Linked DNA regions of Homo sapiens: all the other regions are linked to region 1. Evidence: promoter capture Hi-C in 16 types of primary human blood cells and fetal thymus (Javierre and others, 2016). All regions are on one chromosome and are shown on one strand. Each heading gives the region's core, a stretch centred on a gene start or on the middle of the fragment in contact. The rest is flanking DNA. Distances are from core to core; before and after follow the strand shown. Region 1 holds the start of RPL29 (ribosomal protein L29). Region 2 has its middle 11 kb from the start of CISH. Region 3 holds the start of RASSF1-AS1 (RASSF1 antisense RNA 1).

Region 1 (4,292 bases), core at 304-2,803:
GAACAAAATTACAAGCTGCTTTGCTGCCCTGTCTGCCAAGGTTGTGGGGCTTCAACTTCCTACAGCAGGGGTTCGACCAAGTTTTTTCCTGACATCCCCTCAGGGACACCCCCTCCCCTCTTTAGAAGAAGGTGTCAATTAAATACCAAGTCTGGTCCAAAAGACTTATAGCCAAGGTGGGATATGGGGAAACTGAGGCTCAGAGTTTGTGATTCACTCCACGGAACAGAGAGCAAAAGTAAAGGGAAGGAACAGACTGGGGACATGCTCAGCTCTCCCCTAGACCCTCCAGCCTTCTCAGCTAATCCTTAGAACCCCCTGACACAGGAAGAGAAGCTGACCCCAACTCCAGCACTGGGTCAGATGGAGGTCATAAGGCTGGTCAGTGTGGGAATGTGCCCTGCACGCACTCAGACAAGGCCACTCCTTACCCTAAGTGCCACTGCCAAGCAAGGGAGATAGCCAAACTGCCCTCAGGAGGCAGGTTACACCCTGACCAGAGGGTTACACTTCAGGCTGTGGAGACCAAGGAAAGCTTTATTATGGGTCTGGTAGGGTAGAAAAAGGAATTGCAGGCTTTGGGTGGGCCAGTTAGGCTGTGCTCAGGCAGAAGCCAAAGCTAGAGAAAAACTACATGAGAGGCCTTGACTGTGCACCTGGAACCAAGAAAAGACACTTCCATGTGATTCAGTGCACTCACCCCCTTAAGAGATTCGTATCTTTGTGATCGGGGTTTCTTGATACCATTTCTGTGCCATTTTCGGGCTGTGGGAGAAAAAAAGGGAATTAAGCCAACAAAGAACTTTCCTCTAATAAGACCACCCAACATCACAGCTGGCAAGTCTGGGAGAACCAACACTTCCTACAGCAGCTACACTTGAGATATGGGAAACCCTTACTACTAAATGCAAAACACTCTGTATCTCAAGTAGATCTCTAAACCTATAAACCCTAAAGTTATTACTGGGTGAAATCAATCAGCCTCAGGCCCACAATGGAAACGTGCCCCTTCATCTCTGTCCCAGTTTGCCTGAACCAGTCCTTGCCAGGGTCTGGGATGTAGGCAGGGCCCAAAAAACTTACACTGGTTGTGTGTGGTGTGGTTCTTGGACTTGGCCATGTCTGCACCTGGAAGACAAAAGTGGAGATCAGGGTTAAGGGCTCGCCAGGCTGGGCCACCTCTGCCCCCCCCATTCTGGTCAGAATGAGCCTGCAGGCAGAGAATGTGCAGCCTCCACGAGTCTCGGCTTACTCTGCACGACCAAACGCCAGTCCTGGCCTCCCAAACCCAGGTAATGATGCCCTGAAATCAACTCCTTACCCCCGGAAAGCTGCATTCCCCAATAAAGTGGCTTTCCCTGCCATCCCCCTCCTAGGACCTAGAAGCACCATTCCCACCCCGCAGCTTTTGCTCCCGACAGACACACGGTCGGTCACCAGTCCTCTCCGCAGCCCGCGCCCCGCCGCCACCCGTAAGTCGCGGATGGCATCGGATGCCGCGCGGCCAACACTCACCATAAGCCGCGGCTCCCGAAGCGCCTAGAACCGGAAGAGAAAGGGGCTGCGGTGCAGCACGGGAAATAGGGTCAACAACGCCGGAAAGTACTACTGGAAAAGCTTCCCCAGGCTCCGCGAAGAAAAGTTCCGAAGCCCGGAAGAACGCAAGCCAGACGTGGAGGCGGTGCTACGAGCTTGCCTCCGCCCCCTTCAGGCTGCCTCCTCCCTTCTCTGTTTCTCCAGGACCTGTCTCTTAAGTCTTATTCAAGATACTGAAAAAGAAAGGAGTCCTTGAGGGATGTTGTTGGGCAAGAAGATCTGTGTTCTTTTTCTTTTTTTTTTTTTTTGAGACGGAGTTTCGCTCTTCCACCGAGGCTGGAGGGCAGTGGCACAATCTCGGCCCACTGCAACCTCCGCCTTCCGGTTTCAAGCGATTCTCTTGCCTCAGCCTCCCGAGTAGCTGGGATTACAGGCGCCCACCACCACGCCCGGCTAATTTTTACATTTTTAGTAGAGACGGGGTTTCACCATGTTGGCCAGGCTGGTCTCGAACTCCTGACCTCGCGATCCGCTCGCCTCTGTCCCCCAAAGTGCTGGGATTACAGGCGTGAGCCACCGCACCTGGCCGATCTGTGTTCTTAAAAGCACCCCTGTAATCCCAGCACTTTGGGAGGCTGAGGTGGGCGGATCACGAGGTCAGGAGTTCCAGACCAGCCTGGACAACATGGTGAAACCCCATCTCTACTAAAAATCCAAAAAAAAAAAAAAAAAAAAAAAAAAAATTCACGGGGCGTGGTGGCACGTGCCTGTAATCCCAGCTACTCTGGAGGCTGAGGCAGGAGAATTGCTTGAATCTGGGAGGTGGAGGTTGCAGTGAGCCAAGATCGCACCATTGCACTCCAGCCTGGGCTACAGGGCGAGACTCTGTCTCAAAAAAAAAAAAGAAAAGCACGCCTGACTCTTTCGTGGAGAAGGAGCAGAGGGGAGGAAGGAGAGAGGGCTGCCTGGACCTGAGGGAGGACAGTGGGAATGCAGAGGAGTGGACAAAGAAAGAGTACTGGACTTGGGACACAGAAGATGAGGGAGAAAAAGGAGGCAAGGATAGCCCCTATGTCTTTGGCTTGACAACTGGGTGAATGGTGGGCTGTTTACAGAGATGGAAGATTGAGTGGGGAGCAGGGGCTTTGTTTGTTTTGTTTTGAGGGGGAATGATGAGCCAGATATTTTTGTTGGATGCATTAAATGTGAGATGCCTGTTGGACATCAGAATTGAGAAATTGTTGCCTCTAACAACTCTGTTGCCTTCTCCACCTCTTCCCCCTATAGTTCATTTTCCACACGGCAGTGGGGCTTGGGGACTTGTTTTAAGATACAAATCAGATCCTGTCCCTTAAATCTGCAAGGACATCCCCTTGCATTGAAGATCAATTCTTTACCCACTTGACCCTGACAACCTCTGTCATTTACTTCTCTCCAAACGCATTGCCTTTCTTTCCTGCCAACCACAAATGTGTGTTCTGCCTCAGGACCTTTGCACTTGCTATCCCAGCCACCTGGACTGCCCTTCTCCCTGCTTTTTGGATGGTGTGCTCTTTCCTATAGAGGCCTCCCTGGACTCCATTATCTAAAATAGAGAACCACTGCCTCATCTCACCAGTGATTCTGTGTCCTCTCATGGTTTCCTTTCTTTTCTATTCTTTTTTTTTTTTTCTTTTTTTTAGACAGTCTCACTCTGTCTCCCAGGCTGGAGTGCAGTGGTGCGATCTCAGCTCACTGCAACCTCTGCCTCCCGGGTTCAAGCGATTCTCCTGCCTCAGCCTCCTGAGTAGCTGGGATTACGGGCGCACACCACCACTCCCAGCTAATTTTTAAAGAATTATTTTTAGTAGAGACGGGTTTTCACCATGTTGGCCAGGCTGGTGTTGAACTCCTGACCTCAGGTGGTCTGCCCGCCTCGGCCTCCCAAAGTGCTGGGATTACAGGCGTAAGCCACCGTGCCCGGCCATGGTTTGCTTTCTTTATAGAACTTTCCCAGACTCTAATTGCATTGTTTACTTAGTTGTGTATGTGTCCATTATCATAGGAGCCCAGAGTTTGGGACTGGTTTGATCACCTTCATTTTCCCACTGCCTAACTCAGCATAATGTAGATAGAGCAAGAGCTTAATAAACACATGCCCAGTGAACGTTCCTTGACAAGCCAGGTTCGTGGAGTGACAGACGCATACTGCAGAGGTTTAGGGAGTGAAGCGGAAAGGAGGTTGTGGAGGCAGGACATGTGGATGACTCATTACCAAAGCATTCCTGAGAAAGGGGAGAGAATTCTGACAGGTGTGAGTTGGGAGAATGAAAAGCAGGCTTATATACTGATGGATGATCTGGTGCCAAGAAAGAAACAGCTGAGCCCAGAGGAGAGTGTCTCTGCAGGAATAAAGTCCCTGTGGGGTGCTGAGCACAGGTAGAGAACCTGGTGGGCAAAGACAGGGGCTACAGGAGGTGGGGGTGGTGTGATGCCTGACAGCAAGTCAGGACTTCAGCTCAGGAAGTTGAAGAGGTGGCTGTGGAGACTGGGACAGGGAGGAGGAGGTCTGACTGCCACATCCTTGAGAAAGAGAAGCCAGCAGGGTAGAGGCTGACAGCGGGGGCAGTGATGACTTTATTTATTTACTTTTATTTATTTTATTTATTTATTTATTTATTTTGAGACAGAGTTTTGCTCTCATTGCCCAGGCTGGAGTGCAATGGCGCGATGTTGGCTCACTGCAACCTCCACCTCCTGGGTTCAAACGATTCTAT
Region 2 (4,347 bases), core at 687-3,186, 1.4 Mb before region 1:
AGAGACCAGAGAAAGAGCTCTTCTGGGGCTCATGTCTCCATGGGCTCATGGTGAAGTGGGAGCTGGAGGGGTGAGTTGGGATCCAGGGGAAGACTCCGAGGAGAAACAAAAATCACCAAGTCTACACATTTCCTCCTTACAACGATTCCATAAGGCAAGTGATAACATTGTCCCCAAAGTAGAGGTGGAGGCCCGGTGCAGTGGCTCACGCCTGTAATCCCAGTGCTTTGGGAGGCCGAGGGAGGAGAATTGCTTGAGCCCAGGAGTTCAGACCAGCCTGGGCAACATGGTGAAACTAGATCTGTACAAAAAATTAGTGGGGTGTGGTGGCACACACCTGTAGTCTCAGCTACTTGGGAGACTGAGGTGGGAGGATCGCTTGAGCTCAGGAGGTAGAGGCTGCAGTGAGCCGAGATTGTGCCACTGGACTCCAGCCTGGGCAACAGGGTGAGACCCTGTCTCAAAACCAAACCAAACCAAACACCAAAAACAGAGTGGGAAACTGAGGCTCAGAGTGGGTTCATGACTTGCTCAAGTCACGATGCAGGATACCTAGCTCTAGAACCACCTGCAGCAGGGCACCGGTGTCCCCTGCAAACCCATAGCTCTTTTCACTCAGGTCACGTGGGTCCCAGGTCAACTTCATCCACAGCAGGTTCTTTCCAGCCACAGCCAGCCTGACCTGGGTGCAGGCATCAAGGCCTCTAAGTGACAGAGAATGCAGCACTCCCACCCACTGCCAGCTGCCCCAGGTAGCTTCTGAGAACTGGCCACTGCAGAGTACAAGCACAGCAATGACCTGTGTCCTTGGGCTGCCCCACTGCCCTCCTACAGGGGAGGGAGGACCTCTCTGCCATAGCCCCACCTCACAGCTGCCACCCACCCACTGGGTCCTAGCCCTTCTTAACGCCAGCATTGTCCCCATCTTCTCTGTGACATTGGGGTGGATGGGTAGCACGCTTGGCGCTGTGCTCAGTGAGGGCCAAGGAGTGACCTGAGGGTGGGAGGAGAGAGGCAAGTTCTTGCCGACACCCCGTCCAGCCTTGGCCAGGGGAGGTTCTCCATTCTGAAGGTAAAGGGGTCATGAGTGGTTAAAAGGTTGTCCTAGTGCCTCCCAGCTATGTGACCCTGACCTGCTCACTCAGCACCCTCAGCCATACTTCCAGGCCCCTGCTCTAACAATGCTGCTCCTGGGATCCTGTGATGGGAACACTCATGGCCATTCCCTTGAAATGTGGCCAGACTTCAACCCAGTCCCAGACAGTTGTCAGTGCCCACTCACTGCAGCCTCTCCTCTGCATTCTCCAGGCTATTTTCCAAAAGGCCAGATGCATGTCCTGGGTGGCTTGATGCTGAAGCTGGGGCCTGGGCCCCCTGCTGTGGGACAGGGAAGTGTGGGTGAGACAAGGCTGTCCTGAAGGAGTGACTAGAGCCAGAGGCTGCCCACCAGCAAAGGGGGCTCAGTGAGCAGGGCCTGGCACTGCTGACCCCACCTTGTTTTCCCTCCTACTCTCCCTTGGTGCTTCACACCCCCGGCTGCTCACTGGCCTAGGCAGGACACTCCTGTCTAACCTCCTGCTTTCACTGTGGACCCACACCCACACGCTGCCTCCATAGGTACACATGCCCTTTTTTTCTCTACTAACACCTGTTTCTCGTCGTCCACTCTGCCAGGCTGGACACCGGGCACTTCAGAGGTCATGCCAGATCCAGCACCGGGATGGAGGAGTCTAAGGAGGCACCTGCAGTCAGGGAGGGCTTCCTGGAGGCAGAGACCGAAGCTAAGGGCTCAGTACCCTCTCCCCCCACTTACCCCAGGTCACTGGCTGTCCTCTGAGCCTCACTCCCTGGAAGGGCCAGCAGGTTCCAGGAAGTGTCCCCTCGCCCTGCAGTGCTGGTTCCAAGAACTGCAGCTCTTGGCAGCATTTGCTTAGGATCCTTTCCTAGAACTTGAGACCTGCTCTGCCCAGACTGCTGGGGTCTCAGAGGGCAGCCAGTGGGGGTAGTGGGGGAAGGGGGTGCACTGGGAGGTGCCTCTGCAGGTAGAACATTCCATGGACCAAACATTGGGAGGTGGGCCTAGGCTGTCAGCCGGGAGTGGTTGGCCACACTAGGGTGGTCAACACCTCCAACAGGAGGTCGGTGAAATGCAGGTGCTTTGACTGCAGTCAACCATGGGGTGCGGGCCCATGAGTTCTCCCTGCACAAGAAGGAGGCTCATTCCCTTGGTCCAGAACTTCCACCAGCTTGCCACATGCCACCCTCCACCCCCCGACTCTACTCCCCCCACTAGCCTGGCACCAGGGTCCCATCCCATAGAGAATCAGCACAGGCCTTACCCTCAGAATAGGCCCTCATCAGATAACCTCCAGAGGACAGGCCAGGGTGCAGGACAGGCAGGTTCTGAGCAGGGAAGGGGGATGGGATCGTCTTGGGGCCCTTGGAAGGCCATGACACTTGTGTTATTAATCCTGTTATAATTTTACCTTTCCTGGTTAGAACTGAATAAATTACCCCACCTCACACCCCCCAGCAAAGTTGGGTCGGGTGAATGAGGGACAGGCCCTGGTAAGTGGTCAAGGACAGGGCCCTACTTCCCTCAAGGTCACCAGGCCTCCCCCTGGGGCGTGTCCTCCACCCGCCACTTCTGAGCTGGCACCAGGCCTGCCCAGCCGCCTGGGACCTGCCAGATCACGTTGAGCAACCAGTTCCTGAGAAGCGTTGAAGGCAGTGTGGTTTAAAATTAACTCCCCCGCTCCCCCTCCCGCCTGCGGCCTCCTCTGAGTTCTTGGAAGCGGCGCTCTGCTCTTCCTGGGAAGAGGCCTCCAGCCCCAGCTGCTGCAATTCTGGCGAAAACACCTCACCCAGGCTGGGGGTGGGGGGTGCCCACGCCAGGCCTTCTCTGCCCTACACAAGGCCCAGGGATCCTCTGGAAGCTAGCACCCACCCTAGTTACTCACTGAGACCCAGAAGAGAAAGGGGGTGATTGTCAAGGTGCTGGGAGGAGGTGCTCCTGCCCCCAAAGCCCACAGCTCCCAACCAGGCACCTCTGGGTAGGAGAGAAAGTGAATTGATCCCACAACAGCAAACCCAGGACCCTGGCCTACTTTGAGCCATATATGTCCTGGCGAGATGCAGCAACTTCCTAGGGCCACCCAGCTTTGCCTGCCCTTATAAGCTCAGCTTGCCCACTAGGTGCCAGGCTGATGGTGCTGATCTGGCAAGGATGCCCGGGAGCACGCCCCCGCAGGCATGCACACACCTGGGTTAACAGTGATCTCTGCCAGGATCTCTCCTTTTCTCTCACCCACACCCCTCAAACTGCCCTTGGAACACCTCTCCTCCTGGTTAAGCCTCATTTTCTCATGTCTCGTGGGCTCCGTGTCCCTGGGGCTTTGGGGGAAATGTTTCCTGAGAACCTACTCTCCCAGCAGCTCCTCCTCCCACAGCCATCCACTGGAAGGAGCTGAGAAAAACAAAGGAATGTTGGCCAAGTGGAAAGGTCAGCACAAGCATGCGTGCGCGCGTGCGCGCGCACACACACACACACACACACACACACACACACACACACACACACACACACACACACACAAGTGATGTCACTGATGTGGGGCTGGTGGGGGTGGGAGCAGTGAAGTGCTTCCTGGGAGGAGGCTGAGGGCTGAGAGGCACTTTGAAGAACAGAGCTTTGGCCCAGTCTGGACTATGAGTGCAATCCCCACCTCTGGTGGAGGAGCCCAGCTCTGGTGACAGGAAGGGCCCCATCTGGCTCATGGGTGCTGGGTGTGGGGAGAGTCCCTGGAGCAGGACTCTGCCTGAGGAGCATTTGCTGGATACCACCCTCCCCACCAGGCATGTCATCAGGGCATCATCGGTGCCAGCGCAAGCATCTCACTAGTAGGGTCTGTGTGGGTGAGACAGTCCTGGAGGGCTGCCTGGAGGAGTCATGGCAATCCTAGGTTCCCATAGCCCTCAGAGGCCCTGCCTGTTTTAATGAGGCCCGGGCCATGGAAGCAACTCTCTTTCCACTGAGCAGGAAGCTTTGACCACATCAGAAAAGCTCCCCTTCCCTGGGCCTGCTGTGTCTCCTCCTGCTCAGAGATGAGCATCGGTTTCCATTCACTCCCCATTCCCCAGCATCCAGGCCCAGCCACTCTCCAACCACTCTGAGGTCTGCATTCTGACCAAAATCAAACCTCCAGGGACCTCCTCTAGCTTGAGTCTCAGACGTGGGAACTCCAGCCTGCTGCCCCAGAGTGACTCTTGGAGTGACCCCTTGGGTGGTCCACGGGAGCCAGGGAGGGATAGGGAGGACACATCCACCATGAGAGGCTGTTGAATTTC
Region 3 (4,417 bases), core at 629-3,128, 1.7 Mb before region 1:
CACAGCAGGACCATGGAATTTCCCTTCTGCACCATAGGGACCCACCCTCCACTCTACCACTGTCCATAAAAACTGATGGTTTTTTTTTTGAGACAGAGTCTCGCTCTGTTTTCCAGGCTGGAGTGCAGTGGTGCGATCTTGGCTCATTGCAATCTCTGCCTCCTGGGTTCAAGCAATTCTCTGCTTCAGCCTCCCAAGTAGCTGGGATTACAGGTGCCTGCCACCACAACTGGCTAATTTTTTGTATTTTTAGTCGAGACGGGGTTTCACCATTTTGGCCAGGCTGGTCTTGAACTCCTGACCTCATGATCCACCCACCTCGGCTTTCCAAAGTGCTGGGATTAAAGGTGTGAGCCACTGCACCTGGCCTAAAACTGATGTTTTTTTCTTTTTTTTTAACATATAACTTGGGACTTCTCAGCCTCCTATTCTTTCTTTTTTTTTTTTTTTTTTTTTGAGACAGAGTCTTGCTCTCTCATCCAGGCTGGAATGCAGTGGCCCAGTCTCGACTCACTGCAACCTCTGTCTTCTGGGTTCAAGTGATACTCCTGCCTCAGCCTCCCCAGTAGCTGGGATTACAGGCACACACCACCATGGCCAGATAATTTTTTTGTATTTTCAGTACAGACGGGGTTTTGCTATGTTGGCCTGGCAGGTCTCGAACTCTTGGCCTCAAGTGATCTGCCTGCCTTGGCCTCCCAAAATGCTGAGATTACAGGCATGAGTCACCAAGCCCAGCCTTCTTTCTTTTTTTTGAGACAGAGCCTCACCCTGTCACCCAGGTTGGAGTGCAGTGGCACGATCTTGGCTCACTGCAACCTTTGCCTCCCGGTTGAAGTGATTCAGTCTCCCAAGTAGCTGGGACTACAGTCACACACCACCATGCCCGGCTAATTTTTGTATGTTTAGTAGAGATAGGGTTTCACCATGTTGGCCAGGCTGACCTCGAATTCCTGATTGCAAATGATCCACCTGCCTTGGCCTCCCAAAGCATTGGCATTAGAGGTGTGAGCCACCGTACTTGGCTTCCTTTTCTATTTTTGAGACAGAGTCTCACTCTGTCACTCAGGCTGGAGTGCAGTGGCACGATCTTGGCTCACTGCAACCTCTGCCTCCCAGGTTCAAGTGATCCTTCTGCCTCACCCTCCCAAGTAGCTGGGATTACAGGTGTGCACCTCCGTGGCTAGCCCTCCTTTTCAATTGGTTAGTGTCTTGTGGTTTTCCCACCTTTCCACAGTGGAAAATGGCTCAGGACTGACTGACATGAAGACAAGCCCAGGGGTCTACACTCAACTCAACCCTTGCACCCAAGCTCTGGGCTAAGATTTTGGCGTGCTGAGCACCACCCATTTTGTAAGGAATTTTGTAAAATTTTATCTGAAGCATCACTCACAACTCCACTTTCTTTACTTAAATAAGGATTTCCGCCCCATTTCTGCCAGGCATACTGAGCTTCACAGTCCCTGTTTCTTTTTCCTGGTGCCTAGGCCTGGTTCTCTGAGCCTGGTGGTCACACCAATGGCATCTGGCACACAGTTCTCCGATAATGGGGATACCTAGGAGGTTCCGAGACACCTTACAGTCCTGGGTTAGTAACCTGGATCTCTTTTTCCACCTCTTTAGGCATTTTATAATCTAGCTTTCCCCCTTCCTGTGGGTAAAGTGCTCCTGAATGCTTATGGTCCAAAACAAGACTTCTTTCCTATCTATTCCCAAATCTTTCTCCAGATCCACCCTAGAGGAAGGGAACAGAATCTTCCACATTCCAGCAGCTGGTGACAGGCCAGAACAGGGAAGAGGTGAGGGCTCAGCTGGCTCCATACAGGAGTGCAGATGGAGGAGCAGGATCTCTCTCTGCCTCTCAAGTTTTCCTAAACATACTTCTCAATTCCTGGCGAGGACTCTTCCCTCTCCACATCCTCCCCTAGTCTCCCCAAGGAGGGAGCAGGAGCATTCGAACGCGGAAATCGAGGTGCTAGTCCAAACTGCTCGGTCGGCTTTAGTCATAGCTGGATAATGCCCGGCTCAGGTCTACCACAAGCCATACAGCTGCTTTTTCCGTGTTCAACCTGTCTGTGACAGAAACCAAGGGGGCCCCGGCACCCAGCATCTAGGCGGTGGAATCGGGGTCTTACGCACGGTTCCGCGGGCAGGTCCCCGGCCAGGACCCGCGGGGAGCCACGTAGCCAGGAGGGTGGGGCTGCCCACCGACCCAGGACGCGGCAACGGACCGGGGAGGGCGGAGCTCCAGCGACCGCTTCCCCTCCCGCCCGCCGGCACCCCCTGGCTCCCACCTGGTCCCGGCGCGGCCTGCGAGCTAGCGAGGTTCGCGCGGTGAAGTACTGCTCGAGCTCCGAGTCCGAGTCCTCTTGGCTGCAGTAGCCACTGCTCGTCGTGCTGCTCCAGGTCATTTCGAAAGAAGGCGCCTCCGCCTCGCCCATAGCCGTACCCGCCCGTCCCCCAGTCCTGCGCGTCCGTAGCCGCCAACCACCGCCCCGGTCGCGTGCGTGCGTGTACGCGTGTCAGTGTGCGCGTGCGCCCGGGCCAGAGCCGCGCCGCAACCGTTAAGACTGAAACGTAGATCGCCGGGATCTAGCTCTTGTCTCATTGGGGCAGGAACGCCGGGGCGGGGACACGCACGCTTCGCCCCCAGGAATGACCTCATCGCTCCGGAGCTCCACTCACAGACCCCACCTACCACAGGGAACGGGGGCGGGTGCCAGCGTCCGGGCAAGCGCACAAGAGTGGCCTCTGGCCGGAGGCGAGGGCGGGAAGGTGCGGGAAGTGCGCGTGCGCGGAGCCTGGGTCAGCCTGGGCCCGGGTCCGCTTGCAGCGGGTGGAGTACTTGCGGAGCCGGCAATCCAGGCTCCCCTCCCAGCCCCCGCGCAGAATTAGCCTCTCTGTGCCGCCGGGAAATCGGCAATTAGAACGCTCCTTGCGCGCGGCACCCAGGCAGCCCTCGAGAATGCCTGCACTGTGGCCTGCCCATCCTCGCCCTTCCCATACGCCCTCGGCCCCGCGCTCACCACGTTCGTGTCCCGCTCCACCGCGGGTTCCCAGCCCAGGTCCCGGGGCCCGCAACAGTCCAGGCAGACGAGCGCGCGGCAGCGGTAGTGGCAGGTGAACTTGCAATCTGCAGAGAGGCCTGGCGGTGAGGCGGAGGAGCTCCAGGTCGGGGAAATGTCCCGGAGATTGAAGGGAAGCCCCAGGGAGAGGGCCGCTGCTCGCCAGGCTCCGCAGGCCCGACCTATCTCAGTGGGTTACCTCACACTGCTACGCGGACTCTAATGTTGGCCACCTGGGCGTCTGGAAACCGGCCGGAAGGCCACAGGCAGAGAGGCCTGCTCAACAGTTGGATCTCTATCGCCTAGCACAGAACTTCCCCTTTCCTCATTGGCAATTAAAAAAACAACAACAAAAAACTGCGTCTTGCTTTTGTCACCCAGGCTGGAGTGCAATGGCGCGATTTCGGCTCACCGCAACCTCCGCCTCCTGGGTTCAAGCGATTCTTCTGCCTCAGCCTCCTGAGTACCTAGGATTACAGGCGCCCGCCACCATGCCCAGCTAATTTTTGTATTTTTAGTAGAGACGGGGTTTCACCATGTTAGCCAGGCTGGTCTCAAACTCCTGATCTCAGGTGATCCACCCGCCTCGGCCTTCCAAAGTGCTGGGACTACAGGCTTGAGCCACCGCACCCGGCCCTTCACTGGGAACGTATATGGAATACATCTGCCCATTTACTTGAAGGAAAAACTAAACACCTTTAACCTACGTCTGCCCTGTGGTTGTCACCTGTCTCTACTCCCCTCAGACCAAGACACTGGTCTCTATACACTCTAATCCTTCGCCTTCACTCTCCCCTCTACCCACTCCAGCCAGGCTTGCCTCTTCCTCCAGGAAACTGCCCGGGACAGGGTCCTCAGCGATCTGTGTACTACCAAATGGAATCCAGTGTTCCATTCTCCATTCTCACCCCCTCAGCATCATTTGAAGCTTGCTCCCTTTGACTCCCAGGGGCTACACTCTCCCAGTTTTCCTCCTACCCCCTGCAGCTCCTGCTCAGCTCCTTTGCAGATTCTGACTCAACTTCCATATCTCACGATGAAGTCTGGGCTCAGTCCTGATCACTGGCCTGGTCTGTCTACATTCATCTGCCCCAGATCCACGGCTGAAACACTGACCTAAACCCTCAGACTAGATCCTCCGTGCCAGTACCTTCACTAGGATGTCTAAAAGACGTTTCAAGTGAACATGGCCAAAATTTAATTCCCTTTTCTTCAGCCTCACTGCTACACTTGCCCAGCTTCCTCTTTGCAGCAAAAATGGCCACTAGGCTCCCAGTTACTGGAGACAAAAGCCCAAACTTATCTTTGATTTCTCCCTTGTCTCTACCTCTGATAAACATGCCCAAATCATC

What was found. The method cuts DNA at HindIII sites, captures the fragments that hold promoters and counts their contacts. A CHiCAGO score of 5 or more calls a contact.
Region 2: a fragment that was not itself captured here is called in contact with the fragment with the promoter of RPL29 in region 1 in 1 of 17 cell types (endothelial precursors); the score reaches 5.1 in endothelial precursors.
Region 3: a fragment that was not itself captured here is called in contact with the fragment with the promoter of RPL29 in region 1 in 2 of 17 cell types (erythroblasts and M0 macrophages); the score reaches 8.1 in erythroblasts.

What each region holds. Positions count from the first base shown.
Region 1 is chr3:51,994,342-51,998,633 of GRCh38, forward strand. RPL29 (ribosomal protein L29) reads right to left here and starts at 1,554. Exons shown (of 4, transcript NM_000992.3): 1 at 1,516-1,554; 2 at 1,084-1,128; 3 at 701-765. The coding sequence starts at 1,120. RefSeq lists an enhancer at 1,499-1,658. The HindIII fragment of the contact is 1,082 bases long and covers 534-1,615 here.
Region 2 is chr3:50,598,520-50,602,866 of GRCh38, forward strand. No RefSeq gene overlaps it. Among named protein-coding and RNA genes, the nearest start is that of CISH, 11 kb to the right of the region's middle. RefSeq lists an enhancer at 528-4,208. The HindIII fragment of the contact is 4,209 bases long and covers 1-4,041 here.
Region 3 is chr3:50,334,879-50,339,295 of GRCh38, forward strand. RASSF1 (Ras association domain family member 1) reads right to left here. Exons shown (of 6, transcript NM_007182.5): 2 at 3,027-3,133. RASSF1-AS1 (RASSF1 antisense RNA 1) reads left to right here and starts at 2,633. Exons shown (of 1, transcript NR_109831.1): 1 at 2,633-3,422. RefSeq lists silencers at 2,037-2,346, 2,417-2,596 and enhancers at 2,668-3,239, 3,067-3,326, 3,407-3,496. The HindIII fragment of the contact is 4,225 bases long and covers 1-3,991 here.